3 separate regions of the Homo sapiens genome follow, and regions 1 and 3 are each linked to region 2. Evidence: promoter capture Hi-C in human tissues and cell types (Jung and others, 2019). All regions are on one chromosome and are shown on one strand. The core of a region is centred on a gene start or on the middle of the fragment in contact, and the rest is flanking DNA. Distances in the headings are between cores, read along the strand shown. Region 1 overlaps SCARA5 (scavenger receptor class A member 5). Region 2 holds the start of PBK (PDZ binding kinase). Region 3 overlaps NUGGC (nuclear GTPase, germinal center associated).

What was found. The method cuts DNA at HindIII sites, captures the fragments that hold promoters and counts their contacts. A contact is called where the count stands out against the background at its distance.
Region 1: a fragment that was not itself captured here is called in contact with the fragment with the promoter of PBK in region 2 in 2 of the 25 tissues and cell types used here (dorsolateral prefrontal cortex and mesenchymal stem cells).
Region 3: a fragment that was not itself captured here is called in contact with the fragment with the promoter of PBK in region 2 in 2 of the 25 tissues and cell types used here (H1 embryonic stem cells and thymus).

What each region holds. Positions count from the first base shown.
Region 1 is chr8:27,964,551-27,968,945 of GRCh38, reverse strand. It overlaps SCARA5 (scavenger receptor class A member 5), which reads left to right. Exons shown (of 9, transcript NM_173833.6): 3 at 2,404-2,532. Among named protein-coding and RNA genes, the nearest start is that of SCARA5, 26 kb to the left of the region's middle. The HindIII fragment of the contact is 8,201 bases long and covers 1-4,395 here.
Region 2 is chr8:27,836,238-27,840,568 of GRCh38, reverse strand. It overlaps PBK (PDZ binding kinase), which reads left to right and starts at 2,752. Exons shown (of 8, transcript NM_018492.4): 1 at 2,752-2,917. It also overlaps the pseudogene LOC100130612. RefSeq lists enhancers at 2,463-2,512, 2,583-2,642. The HindIII fragment of the contact is 7,721 bases long and covers 1-4,331 here.
Region 3 is chr8:28,041,188-28,045,649 of GRCh38, reverse strand. It overlaps NUGGC (nuclear GTPase, germinal center associated), which reads left to right. Exons shown (of 19, transcript NM_001010906.2): 12 at 1-123; 13 at 4,435-4,462. Among named protein-coding and RNA genes, the nearest start is that of NUGGC, 41 kb to the left of the region's middle. The HindIII fragment of the contact is 4,477 bases long and covers 901-4,462 here.

The DNA of each region.
Region 1 (4,395 bases), core at 1,176-3,675, 130 kb before region 2:
AAGGTCTGTGTTCTGCGTGTTGGTTGACTAAGGCACCTGTCACAAGTAGGTGCTTGCTATTAAATAGAAGCCTCAGGTAGAGGGCAAGGGAAATATTCTTTTTAATGGGGAAAAAATAGACATCATTGCACATTGACCCACTCCTACAGTGAACTAGCAACACATATGAAGATGACAAAGGCAAACTTGAAGTTAACTGTGTTCACGGCTGTGTGATTTTCCTCCTCCTATTCTGTCATGAGGCTAAGGAGACAGCAGGGCTCAGAGCAGGAGAGCTGAAACTACCACCATGAGAATGAAACCAGTAATTGTATAATATTATTCAATGCTATACCTCCTACTCTGACTCTTGAGAGGAACAGAGTTTTCTCTGGTAAGTTGCAACCAGACAGCTAGTGGCTCTCACCAGAAGGAAAAAAATAAAAGAAATGCTACCAGGAGCCTACATATTTAGGAGCAAAACCCTTTGTAGAGCCTAGTGTATGGTAAAGGATGGAAAATCCCAGAAAAGGTTTAGGGTGAGTTAGAAAGATGTGCTCTATTTTGTCTTAGCGGAAAATCAGCTCAACTCTTCAAAACTTGCTAATGTAAGGATGAGTGAGAATAGTCATTGACAACTTGCTCGACACTGCACCCAATGTCTTATGGAAATATTATGTAATAGCTCTGTTTAGCTGGTTTAACAGCAGTATTTGTAATAAAATGAAGTCAATGAGTGAGAAAATGTTCCTTATATAACAATACCTCTGGGGGACCAGGGCAGTGTGGATCGTAAGGTACCAATAGTCACCACCATTTTCCTTGTGGTCATAAAACCTCCTGAGGCCAAGGAGGTAGTAATGATACCTGGGAGGCGATATGTAACCTTTGAGGTATCCTTGCAAATGGGAACCTATGAAGGAATTGCAAACATGGTACTATCCTTCAGGATGTTTTCTAAATATCAATTATTTTAGCCTCTCTTGACAACCTTTTTCTGCCCACTCCAGTTAGTGACACTCCTCTCCTCTCCTTTCCTTTTTCCTTTCCTTTCCTTTGACAGTCTTACTGTGACACCCAGGCTGGAGTGCAGTGGCGTGATCTCAGCTCACTGCAACCTCTGCTTCCTGGGTTCAAGTGATTGTCCTGCCTCAGCCTCCCAAGTAGCTGGGATTACAAGCACGCGACACCACGCCCAGCTAATTTTTGTATTTTTAGTAGAGACAGGGTTTCACCATATTGGCCAGGCTGGTGTCGAATTCCTGACCTCAAGTGATCCACCCACCTTGGCCTCCCACAGTGCTGGGATTACAGGTGTGAGCCACCGTGCCTGGCCTTAGTGACACTCTTGAAGTGGGGACAGTCCTTCTGGAGAGGGGTCTTACCCACAGGGGGTAAGGAACAAGCATTAAAGGGATAAGCATTTTTTAAAAAAATGCCGTCCCCCCGCCGCCCCCACCCAGTGATTCCTACATGCCCTGCTAACATCAGGGAGAGGATCCCTTCTTTCCACTTCCAGTCAACAGAGCAGCTGGAGATCAGTAAGCCTCTTCATGGGCCATCTGAGAAGGCCACCTTGAAGGACCAGTTCAGCTAAAAGATCAACCTGGGTCCTGGGGCCGGATTTGCTGCTAACTGACATTTGACATTCTTTATCTGTACAACAAAGGGGTTGAATTACATGGCCCAAAAGGCCACTACAGCAAGGATATTTCCCTGTTCCATTTTGAGCAGAAGCTGAGGAGTGTCACAGGATGAGGTTACCATGTTTTCTAGCAAATCTAAATGCAAGGTTGCAAGCTGGTCAGAACTGGCTTACAGATGTGTTTTGTTTACACTCCCCAGTGTTTTGTGTTTGATGAATTAGTTGCCAACCCTTAAAAATAGATGTAGAAAATTCTGGATCTGGCCACACCCACCACTCATCCCTGCATAGTAGCCTCTGCCAGAGCAGGCACGTGCCGTTGGCCTCCCCACAGTCCCACTGGGCCCATTTCTCTCATTCCCATACCTTCCCAGCCACTGTAGAAGTTTGAGTTTGCAACTCCTGTTTTAATTTCTCTTTATGTTCCCTGGATCCCATGGGACAATGACACTTTTTAAAGCCACATATCCAAGACTATTTCAAGGTCTTTCTGCTGCTTGGACTAGCTCAAGAAGAGTTGGTTTTTGTGAGCATGTGAGCTGTGGACATGTGATCTGGCTTGATCATGAACACAGAGAGTGGGAGGAGAGCTAGAGGCTGAATGTGATGGTCCTGGAAAGCTCCCCATCAAGTGGCTGCATTCTAGACATGCAAAAGGGATGTGAGAAGTTCAACATGAACATCTGCATGCATCAGGGAGAGATGAGACCAAAAAAGAAAAGAGCTTATGGGGTTTTTAAGTGTCTTCTTTCCTTCCTCCTCTTACCCTTATTGTCCAGGTCCATGTCACAAACGGCGGGCAAGCATCTGCTGTACCCAGCTGGGGTCCCTGTCGGCCCTGAAGCATGCTGTCCTGGGGCTCTACCTGCTGGTCTTCCTGATTCTTGTGGGCATCTTCATCTTAGCAGGTAAGAGCAGGCCATTTTTGTCCTGGTCTTTTGGGATGAGGAAGGAAGACCTGGAGCTTCCACTCTTCATTCCCACTGTCATGAGCCCAAACACTGCCCTTGTCACCATGGAAACCATAGAGGAAGAAGGAAGAAGCTCTTCAGTAGTATTGCTTGTTTTGCGTGGGAGTAGCTGGCAGGGGCTATGTGAGCTTGTGGAATCAAAGAGACCAGCAGTAGAGACCTAGCTGCTTGGAGTGGCTTCTGACTTTTCCTGCATCATTGTGGGGCATTGTGCATTACACTGGGCCTCCCTGGGCCTCTGGGGTATGGTTTGCTCTGAGAAGGCTGGGCGTTGTCTAAGCTTCTGGTCCTGGGGTGCCATGAAAATAGTTGTGAGGCACTTTGCTTCCTGGTAAACCTGCTGCCCTTTGCAGTTACTGTAGGTAGAATGGGTTTGCCCCAATTCAGCCAGGCTCTCCTTACCAATTTCTATCTTTTGAGATGGGCAGGCGATGGGCTAGGGCTAGCATGTTCTCCAGCCATGGAGAAGGAGAGCTCATGGACTCAAGAAGGGATGGAACAGGAGCCTGTTGGCCCCAAGCTGTGAGCAGCCCAGCTCATCATCTATAGGTAGTCCCTATGAAGACAGATGGTGAAGCAGATGGCTGTAGTGGTCTTCTCCTGACTCCCTTTGAAAGGAAGGGCTGCTCAGTTCCCACCTTTCTCAGTGGAGGTAGGTAGGACTGGACGCAAGTAAGGCTGAGAGATCAGTTTATTTCCACCCAACATGTCTCACATGAGTACCTGCCTTGCAGCAGGCTCCATGCTAAGATTGGGGGCACAGCTAAATAGGACCCAGGGGCTTCTCTCAAGGAGCTCCCAGCCTAGGAACTGAGGGGGTCATGCAGATAGAGCCCTGCCTCAAGGCAGAATGCAGCGGGCACTGTGATGGGGTGTAGCCCAATGCGATGGTGACAGAGCAGGCACATAGAGGGAGGTGCGGCTGCTGCATGAAGCAGGTGGAGTTGGTGGGAGCGAGGCTGCTGGCCAGGCCGAGCTGACTTGGAGCACTGAGGGAGGGGCCCTCGGGTGAAGCCCAGGGCAGGAATCTGGAGGTCCAGCCCTTACAGATAGATGACCTTTTGCTGGAAATTTTGAGGCAAATGGCCAGGACCTCCCCGGTCTTGATTCACTTTCCGTCAAGCGGGACTAGTCAGTTGGGTGATGTAATGGGGTGTTCAATGCTGCCTGAGCCTTCAGGTTTCCACACTCAGGGCAAAGACATTGGGGTGGAGTCTGTCCCATCAATGAGCAACCTGAGGGGCAGCCAACAGCAACAACGAGAGAACCTCATTATTCATCCCTGGGACCAGAGGACAGGGGCCAGCAGGGTCCCTCGCAGGCCGAGTGGGCCAGAGGAGGATTTGAACATGTTCTCGGGCTGCTTGGTGAGAGCTTGGGATCTGAGTTTTGTGGGTTTGGCTGCGAGGACCATAACAAATTTCTGGAATGTTCAGAAAGCATTCCAGCCCAACAGGAAACCAGAACAGGGACTTTTAGGTGACAGATACAGAAAAGCTCTGCAGAACAGGAACTTTTAGGTGACAGATGGGGGTCTGGAGGAGAGGGACCAGGCTGGTGGGGGGTTTGGGGCAGGCCTCTGGAGGTCCTGGAAGGGCATCGTCTCTTGGGGAAGAGAAGACTTGCAGTGGAGTGACGGTTCTCTTCTGGTGTCTGGATGGCTGCCATGTGGAAAGGGTAGACATACTCTATGTGACCCCAGAAGGCAGAGCTAGGACCAACAGGTGGATGTTATTAGGAGACAGATTTCCATTCAAAATAAAGGACAGTTTGCTAACAAGTAGTGCCGTCCAGTATGAT
Region 2 (4,331 bases), core at 1,503-4,002:
AAATCTAATATTTCAATTGAAAATAGAGTATACTCATGAAATATTATTTAAGTTTTCTAAAACACAACTTGAAAGCATCCAGCATGCATGATTAATTTCAGTACAGTGAATTCAAGGTCAAGTATACATGTTACATACATCAAAGCTAGATTACAAATTATCGTCCTCATCATCATCATTATCATCTTCTTCATGTTTTTTTTTCCATTGGCAGTAGTTTGTGATGACACCATATTAGTGTAATAAGAATGCCTCTGGACCATTCGTGATGGATTAACCAGAACATTCTGAATTGCTGATGTTACAGGAATTCACGCTTCACAGGGCAATGTGAAGCAGACATCTACACTGTAAACCTTTGCCTTGTGAGGGACATTTGAGTCCTTACTTTAGTTGCCACAAACATGGTTTGGGGGGTGGTGTGCCTAGTGTGTGAACACCTGGTCGGCTAGTAACTGAACCAACATTTAATCTGGGTGAGACAGAAATAATGCAGGGTGTTCACAGGAGAATAAAAACTCCAGACAGCAGTTTCCCATGAGTAGGGGTTATGGGCTGATGAACCCCTGAAAAACAGGGTGTGCACCAAGCTGGCTAAGACCAACTAGACCCAAAGTGGTGCTGGATTTGACCTAGGTTTCACCTAGGACCTCATTATATGCTCATTAACACACTAAATCACACCCACCAGCGCAATGACAGTTCTGGGAACACCCATATTTGGTGTAAAAACGAGTGGCACCACAGTTCCAAGAAATCTCCATCTTTTTCCAAGAATTGTCATAAATATTCCACCCCTTGGTTGAAGAAACCCATACAGAGAGAAACCGCACACCCCACTGTGTGACTCTCTTGAGTACGCCCGCAATCCCCTTTCTTAAGTGTGTACTTTTTCCCTTTGCAACAAATCTCCATACTTTCACTATTTTCCAACTCATCCTTGAATCCATTCTCAAGACGGTGTCAAGAGTCTGGACACCTGCGGGGGTCCAGGACCCACCGGCATTTGAGGACCTCCCCTGGCCCACTGATATCATGGGGACTGTTATTCTTCCCTCAGACGTAGATGCCTTTTTCTGTAAAGACTTAAGCCTGTATGTATGAGACAGAAGTTTGGCAGGACTGATTTCACAAGATAGAGGTCACAAAGACCCCCACTGATAAAACAGATGCAGTAAAGAGGGTGGCCCAAACCCACCAAAACCAAGAGGGCACCCCATAGGGGGCCACTCAGCGTTCCCTTTCCTGGCACACCAGGGTTGGAAAAACCACTCCAGGCAAAGAACCCGGATCAAGATTGAGACTGAAATCCACTAGTGGATGACCTCTGGTCATCCTCACTGCTCATTACAGGCTAATTATAATGATTTAGCTGCCGAAAGACACTCCCCCTGAGTGCCATGACGGTTTACAAATGCTATGGCAACCCGGGGAACTTATTACCCTACATGGTCTAAAAGGAGGAGGAACCCTCAGTTCCAGAAAATCCCCAGGGCCTTCTTGTAAAACTCATGAATAATCCATCCTCTATCTAGCATATGATCAAGAAATAACGGTAAAAATAGCCCATCTGCAGCCCTCCAGGCTGCTCTGCCTGTGGAGTAGCCACTCTTATTCCTTTACTTTCTTAATAAACTTGCTCTCATTTTACTCTATGGGGCTGCTCTCGAATTCCTTCCTGCTCCAAGCCAGGTGGCCTCTGTGGCTGTACCCTAGTTTTGGGGTTTTCCCTGCAACATATAGTTTGGAGCTGTTAAGCAATATCTATTGGGTGGCATTCTAGGACTTGAATACGGCTTGATCAAAGGCGAAGGGGTTTGATTTCTTTGCCTTGCAATATCTAATAAAAATCTCTTGGGGCGGAGAGGTAAAAAAAAACTGGTCGGCGCACACTGGATTGCAATTGCACACCAGTAGCTTTCTTAGCATGGCTTGAGTAAATTTTTGCATCATCCAGAACTGTGGTCACATAGGGGAAGGCAAACTCCAACATGTGATTTATACGTCTTGGCTCATATTCTTTGATCCCCACGACCCTCAGGACCTGCGCCATCCTCGGGGGATGCCTCAGGGCACATCTTCCTGGGGAGAAGCCCTGATCAGAGTTGCGGGGCTTTGTCACCTACATTAATGGATTCCAGTCCCGATCTTGATGCAAGTTCTTTGCTTACTGTGGTTTTTCTAACCCTTGGTGTACCTCGAAACAGAAATGAGCGGCCCCACAAGCGGTACCCCCTGCCCTGAGCTCTGGGCCCCTGGTCTGCCCCACGGCCCATCCCCTCCTGGGGAGCAGATGTTCCTAAATAATCGTTGAATAAATTAAAGAATGTTGAATTGAATGTGGCAATTACATGAGTTAGCAACATTTCTAAATATCTTTTTTTTCCCTCGGCTAAAGATGATTGTTCCTTAAGCTACGCATTTGTCTTTACAGTGTTTCAAGGCCTCATAAACCTATAATAAAATTGACGTCATAATCACGACACATTCAACACAGATGTGAGCGTTTGGAGAGAGCTTCAGCCTTCAGCACAGGCAACTGTGTTCTATTCACCGGGCTGTGCTCCTCGGAAGGGCTGGTGGTTCCTGTAAAAGTTTGTGCTCCCCGCGCCTTTCCTTCCTTCCCTCGTCTTTGGCGCCTGCGGGCACCGGGAGTCCTGGGAGAGGGAGGAGGAACGGCGAATCGGCGGGGCGTGTCCTTCACGCCGCCCCGTAGCTCGGGGCCGAAGCTGGCGCAGCGCGCGACTTTTTGAAAGCCAGGAGGGTTCGAATTGCAACGGCAGCTGCCGGGCGTATGTGTTGGTGCTAGAGGCAGCTGCAGGGTCTCGCTGGGGGCCGCTCGGGACCAATTTTGAAGAGGTACTTGGCCACGACTTATTTTCACCTCCGACCTTTCCTTCCAGGCGGTGAGACTCTGGTAAGAGGAGCTTTTTTTTTGCGAGCCCTGGCGGGGGCCGAGCCCGGAGCCGAGGCCTCTGCGGGGGCTTTCGTGACAGGGGAGGATCTGGTTACAGCCAAAGAAGGATTTTGGCAGCCAGCCCCTTGTGAGCCCCTGGATTGGGGTAAACAGTCTGACCTCCACCCCCGAACCCTGCTGAGCGTGTGAGATGCAGAGGACCTGAGAGTCATGCGGCCCACACTTTCTCTTTGCTTCCCCTTGGAGTTTCTACATCTACTTTGTTTCTCTTTTCTCCTTTACTTTTTCTCTCATTCTTTTAATTTTCCGTTTTCTGCTGCCCGTCCGCGTCGTAGCTTTGTCAGTAGTGTCCAGGTATTTGTTGAGTCCCAGGGTCCCAGGCTTAGGGCCCAAAGGTCACTGACGTTTGACCCGGTAAATCTGTAGATTAGCTTGCTTGAGCGCTGCTCACTTTAATGCTGCCTCTTAAACAGTACTTGATTGTTAAAAATATCTTACGTATTCCACAGAGTATGAAATTCTGCTCACGGTCATCCTACTGCCATTTCTAATTTATCTTCATCTAAATATTCACTGTTTTTTTTGCTGTCATCTTCATGAGAACCTTGTGATTTAGAATTAGTATGGTTATTTAACAATTAATGTTAAGAATGCATATACAATACATAACATAATCTGAAGCAGAGTCTGGGCTACTGGCCAAAAGCTATCTGTCAGCAGTTAATGCCTAAACCTGAGTGTGCAGTCTGGAAAAAAGTGGCCCTCAGACAACTGTGAAATGGATAGGACATGGTACATTGAGGTGCAAATAGCTTAGAGTAGAAGGTGGGACTCAGTCGTAAGAGAACATAATGAAATGTTACGACTTCTGTTTAAACCTAGTTGTTTTTAGAGATAGGTTTTCTTTTTTAAAACGTGCTGCTTCTGAATATCAAATCCTCCGTAGAGTGAGCGGGAAAAGGCAGTGAGACTCATAAGGCTCATCATAAGATTTCCAGGACACTCTACGCGCCAGGGTTTTCTGCATCCTACTTTGTTGGCACCTCCTTGGTTGCTTTGTTTTTCATTTCTCATGCTTGGATGCCCTAGGGCTCACCCCTCTTCTCTCTACAGTTACTCCCTAGATGATCTTACCTAGTCTCTTGGCTTTAATAACGTCTGCGTGCTGCCATCCCACAAACTTAAATCTTCAGCTTGCATTCTAGATCCGTATCCACCCACCTATTTGACTCCTCCACAAAACTCTCCAACAGCTTTCTGTTTCTCAGTACAAGCTGAAATCTTGACTGTGACTACAGTTGAGTAGAAGTCACAGTCCTGTGGCTACAATGCTCTACTTGACTTGCCAGTCCCTACCCTCAGCCTCCCTGACTTTGTCTCATTCTCCCCCTTGCTAGCTCGCCTCTTCGTGAAG
Region 3 (4,462 bases), core at 1,890-4,389, 200 kb before region 2:
TTAAGAGAATACATCAGGAAGAGCCTCTTGGACAAGAAGAAGAGGACAGTGACCAAGTATGTGACTGAAGCCTTTGGCCTGTTGCTCCTCACAGATAGTTTCAACTCCACGCAAAACCTGCCGGTATGGAAGACACTGGGTTTTCATATTCTCCCCCTTCCTGGGCAGGACATTTCCTTTTACCAAGTTAGAAAATTAACTTATGATATTTTTTCTTTTCATATTAAAGGAAGATATGAAGTTCAGTGAGTCTAAAAGGACAAAAAGATAATTAGAGGGTTAAAATCATAACATTTGGGTAAAAGAGAAAGGAGTAATATTTTACCTGGGACAGATGGGCTGAGAGAAAAATGTCAAAATAGTAGCTATTTTCCAACTCTCCTGAGACTCGAACAAGGTGGAATGTGTTTAAGCGATGGCAGGCGTGATTTGGCTTGCTTCTAGTGGAATATAGACACTTCTTGGTTACCCTGGAGAGGCGTGTTTATGTATACAGTCCAAAAATATTTCATCTGTCTCTGGTGCTGTCAGAATCTCAAGCTCAGAAGAGCACAGGAAAATAATGTGAGAGGATGGAAGCTTGGAGGGAATTTCAGTAGAGTTTCAATAGTTATCTTCACTGGCAAGAATGCAGGCCTTCTGAAAAAGTAGTTAAAATTACTTTTCTCATAGTAATTGACATATTTATCTCTTTCATGGATGGTTTCTTTTTAACCCTAAAATAAGAGGGATAAGCTGCTAGATTAGAGACTTGGGGGGTTTTGGAGAAAAACCTCTTACTGTCGTCAGTCACCAGCTGTGTTGTCTCCTTATGAGAGATAGAATATGCAAAGACAATTGCTGGACCGTGTGTAAAAATAGATCTCTGACCACAACCTGCAGCCACCTGCCCAGAAACCAACCTCTTATCTACAATAAACAGCCCAGGAAGCCTTCTGTCTGTAAGTCAGACTTCAGGAAGTCAAACTGCTATCTCTAATAACAACCCAGGAGGCTAAAGAATAACTCTGTAACAATCAGCACCAGATGGCCGGGACTTGATGAATAACTTCCCTAATCTCTGTTCCTGCTTCCAACTTACTACCAACCGGGAAAACCAAATGTCTATGCCTAACCAACCACATTGGCTGCTCTGCTTTTAGCTAGCCCGTCTTTAGTGTCCCCAGGCCAACAGCCTCCAATCAGGGCACCCCGAAGCCTTTCCTTTTGTCCACCATGAAGCTTTTCCACTCCCCTGCCTGCTTTTGAGTCTCTGCTGAACTCAAATGATGGTGGCTGACTCTGTTGCTGTAGTGAGCTGTGAATAAACAGCCTCTGCTTGTCCTCATTTGGTTGGTTTTCACTTATTTGCACACTTGCCTTCACCCGTCAGATGTGCACAGTCAAGATGTTTGTCTTCTTGTTATGCCGGAACAGGGAAGGGGTAGAGGAAGTACATGAATAGGGCTTTGTGAGTGGTCGAGGAGCTGGTCCTCACGATGGGGAAGGTGGGCCAATGATGACCCTGTGGGGTGGCAAGGGGAGGCAGACACTCGAGACCTGACTTCCATGTGGGAGTAAGCAGTGCCACCTGGAGCCTTTGGTTGTGTATAAATGCTTGTAAAAAGTCTTTAGTGGTGTGGGGTCTTTCTTCTGCATAAAAGGGGCATATAGAGCAAAATTCAATCTTTTTTAAATCTATTTCTTATGACTTGTTTTGGTCTAGTTGTACAAGACAAAAACAAAACAAAACTCTTGGAATCTGAGATTTTCTTATTTGACTTTGTCCGCTGAAATCGTTGGGGAAGGGTTTGACCTTCCAATTTCCCAAAACAGTTCTTCAGGGTGAAATTTGTCTCTTTGCCCAGCACAAGATTGCTTTTGGAAGTGCTGATGGAAAATGAATCCGATGTGGGCTGTGTGAGGTTGGTGTATTTTACAAACATTAGGACAAGGCATTTTGCCATCAAGGCCAGAAGTGCCCACCCCACGTGTTTTCTTTGCTAATATGGAAGTGCAGAGCTCAGAGGGGCTCAGATTCACCCTTGCAGCCAGACTCCAAGCAGTGGAAAACATAGAGGAGAAGGGGGCTGACTGGCAATTCTGCAATAGCTATGTTAGGGAGTTGCTGGCAACTTTGCTCAAAATTCCTTGGCCTTAGGTATTGGTCTTACTCTTAGCTCTTTGATAGAAAGTTGGAAGGCAAGAATTTGTCAGTTCCTTTGAATTCTGAAAAATCAAATCTAAATATGTGTGTGATTGATTTTTTTTCAAAGATGATCACTGAAACCAAAAATTTGGAGTTTGAGTAGTGATTTTAAATGAGCAATCATTATTTTTAAGAATCCATAGGAAGTTGAGGACCACATCTCAATGTCAAATGAAGTCTGCGTTTATTCATACTAAGTGCCAGCTTCTTTGTTTCTTATTGTTCTTTTATTCTCCGCTCTTCCCTTTCTTATCATTCTTTTGTTTATCCAACAAGGATTTATCGAGAGTGAGGCATTGTGAGAATCATGCCCATAGCTTTTCTTTCCATGACTTCTTTCTTCTTTCATTTTCATCACTGGTGACACCACAAATTCAAAAGAATCTAAAGGATGTCCTGGGAAAAATGCTTTGTAGAATTCTTAATGGTGAAAATGAGGGAAATTCCCGGGGTGCACCGAATGCTAAACAGTCTCCATAAACTCTAAAACGTATTTACTCCAAGATTCACAGCATTTTAGAGTGTGAGGTTGTTTTCAAGATCATTCAACCCAATTCACTTAAAGATGATACCGTTGAGAATCAGAGAAGTTAAATCACCTGTATCAGGTCACACATCGATTCGAGAGCTATTTCTGTCTATTTGAAATAGAATTTAAAAGCCCAAATTATCTCGCAGTTTCTCTGGGCCACTCGTTCAATCCACAAATGTCTATGGGTTTTGCTCTCTGTGCTGTGCCCTGGAATAAAAGAGCATGACTAAGAGCCTGCTCCTTTGGCAAGTTCCTATCCAGGGAAGAAGACACAGGGAACGAGAGAGATGTCATACGGCAGGAGGCAGGAGACGTGCTGTGGTGCAGGACTGTGGGAAGTGCAGTGGGAGCACAGGACAGAGAGCCCCACCTCTACCTGGGGACTCAGGGAAGGTGCCTCATGGGAAGGACCTTTGAGCTTTGTCTCCGAAGTAACAAAGATGAAATCAGCAAGGCCCAGAGGGCACAAGATTGACAGCATGTTTGGGGAATAGCAGCAAGTCCAGGGGTAGCTACTTGGCAGGATGTGTCAGGCAAACAGAGATGGTGGTGCTAGAGAGGTGGAGTGAGTTCTGGCTATGAGGTGCCTTAAAGGCCAAGCTGGGGAGTGTGGCTCTGACTGCTGCAGGCACTGTGGGGCCCACCAAGGTTCCCATGTGGGGAACAACACTATGAGTTCCCAGTCTGGAACTGTATTAGTCCATTTTCATGCTGCTGATAAAGACATACCCGAGACTGGGTAATTTATAGAGAAAATGAGGTTTAATGGACTCACAGTTCCATGTGCCTGGGGAGGCCTCACAATCATTGTGGGCAAAAGGCATGTCTTACATGGTGGCATGTTTTATAAGGTTTTATAAGGTTTCTCCTTATAAAACCATCAGATCTCATGAGACTCATTCACTACCATGAGAACAGTATGGGGAAAGCCAATCCCATGATTCAATTATCTCCCACCAGGTCCCCCCCACAACACGTGGAATTATGGGAGCTACAATTCAAAATGATATTTGGGTGGGTACACAGCAAACCATATCAGGCACCTAGGGGTCAAGGCTTTCTCTGGTGGTCACTTCCTTGTATTATTTGAATATATGTTTTCTCCCTGATTAGACTGTATTCTTTGAAGAAGGAAGCATGGATTTATTTTTGTGGTCCTGTAGCTTTGCTATGCAAAGTGTGGTCCATAGCTCGGAAGACCAGCATTACTTGAGGACTGGCTAGAAATGCAGAATCCCAGGACCTTGGATTTCAGATTTTAAGATCTCCTGTTGATTTGTATGCATGTTAAAATTTAAGAAGCATTATCCTTAAAAACTCCTTCGTGCAGAGTCCAAGCCCGTGAAATGTTTGTTGAATCAGATGTCATTGGAAAAATCTGTTTTAATAACAATTGGATTTCTATGTGGATAGCTACTTCCCCAAATAACCTGATGGATTACACAGCTGAAATAAGTTGCTGAATAAGCAGAGACTGTGATTTTTAAGAAATGAAATAAGTTGCACCAGGCAGGTATTTGTTCTATTCTCTAACCCCACAAAGCCTAAAGGGGTCTGTGCACTGAGTGAGGTCTTATGGGGACAATAAAGAGAAGTCAGCTCTGAGTGATAAGCTGAATCTTGAGCTGGTGACAAGCTTAAAGAAAGCAAAGCTTCAGGAGAAGGTGCCCTTAGGGAGGGGGTGGCCTGATTCTTTTATGGTCCTTGTCCCTAGAATGAACACTTGCACATGAGTGTCCTGC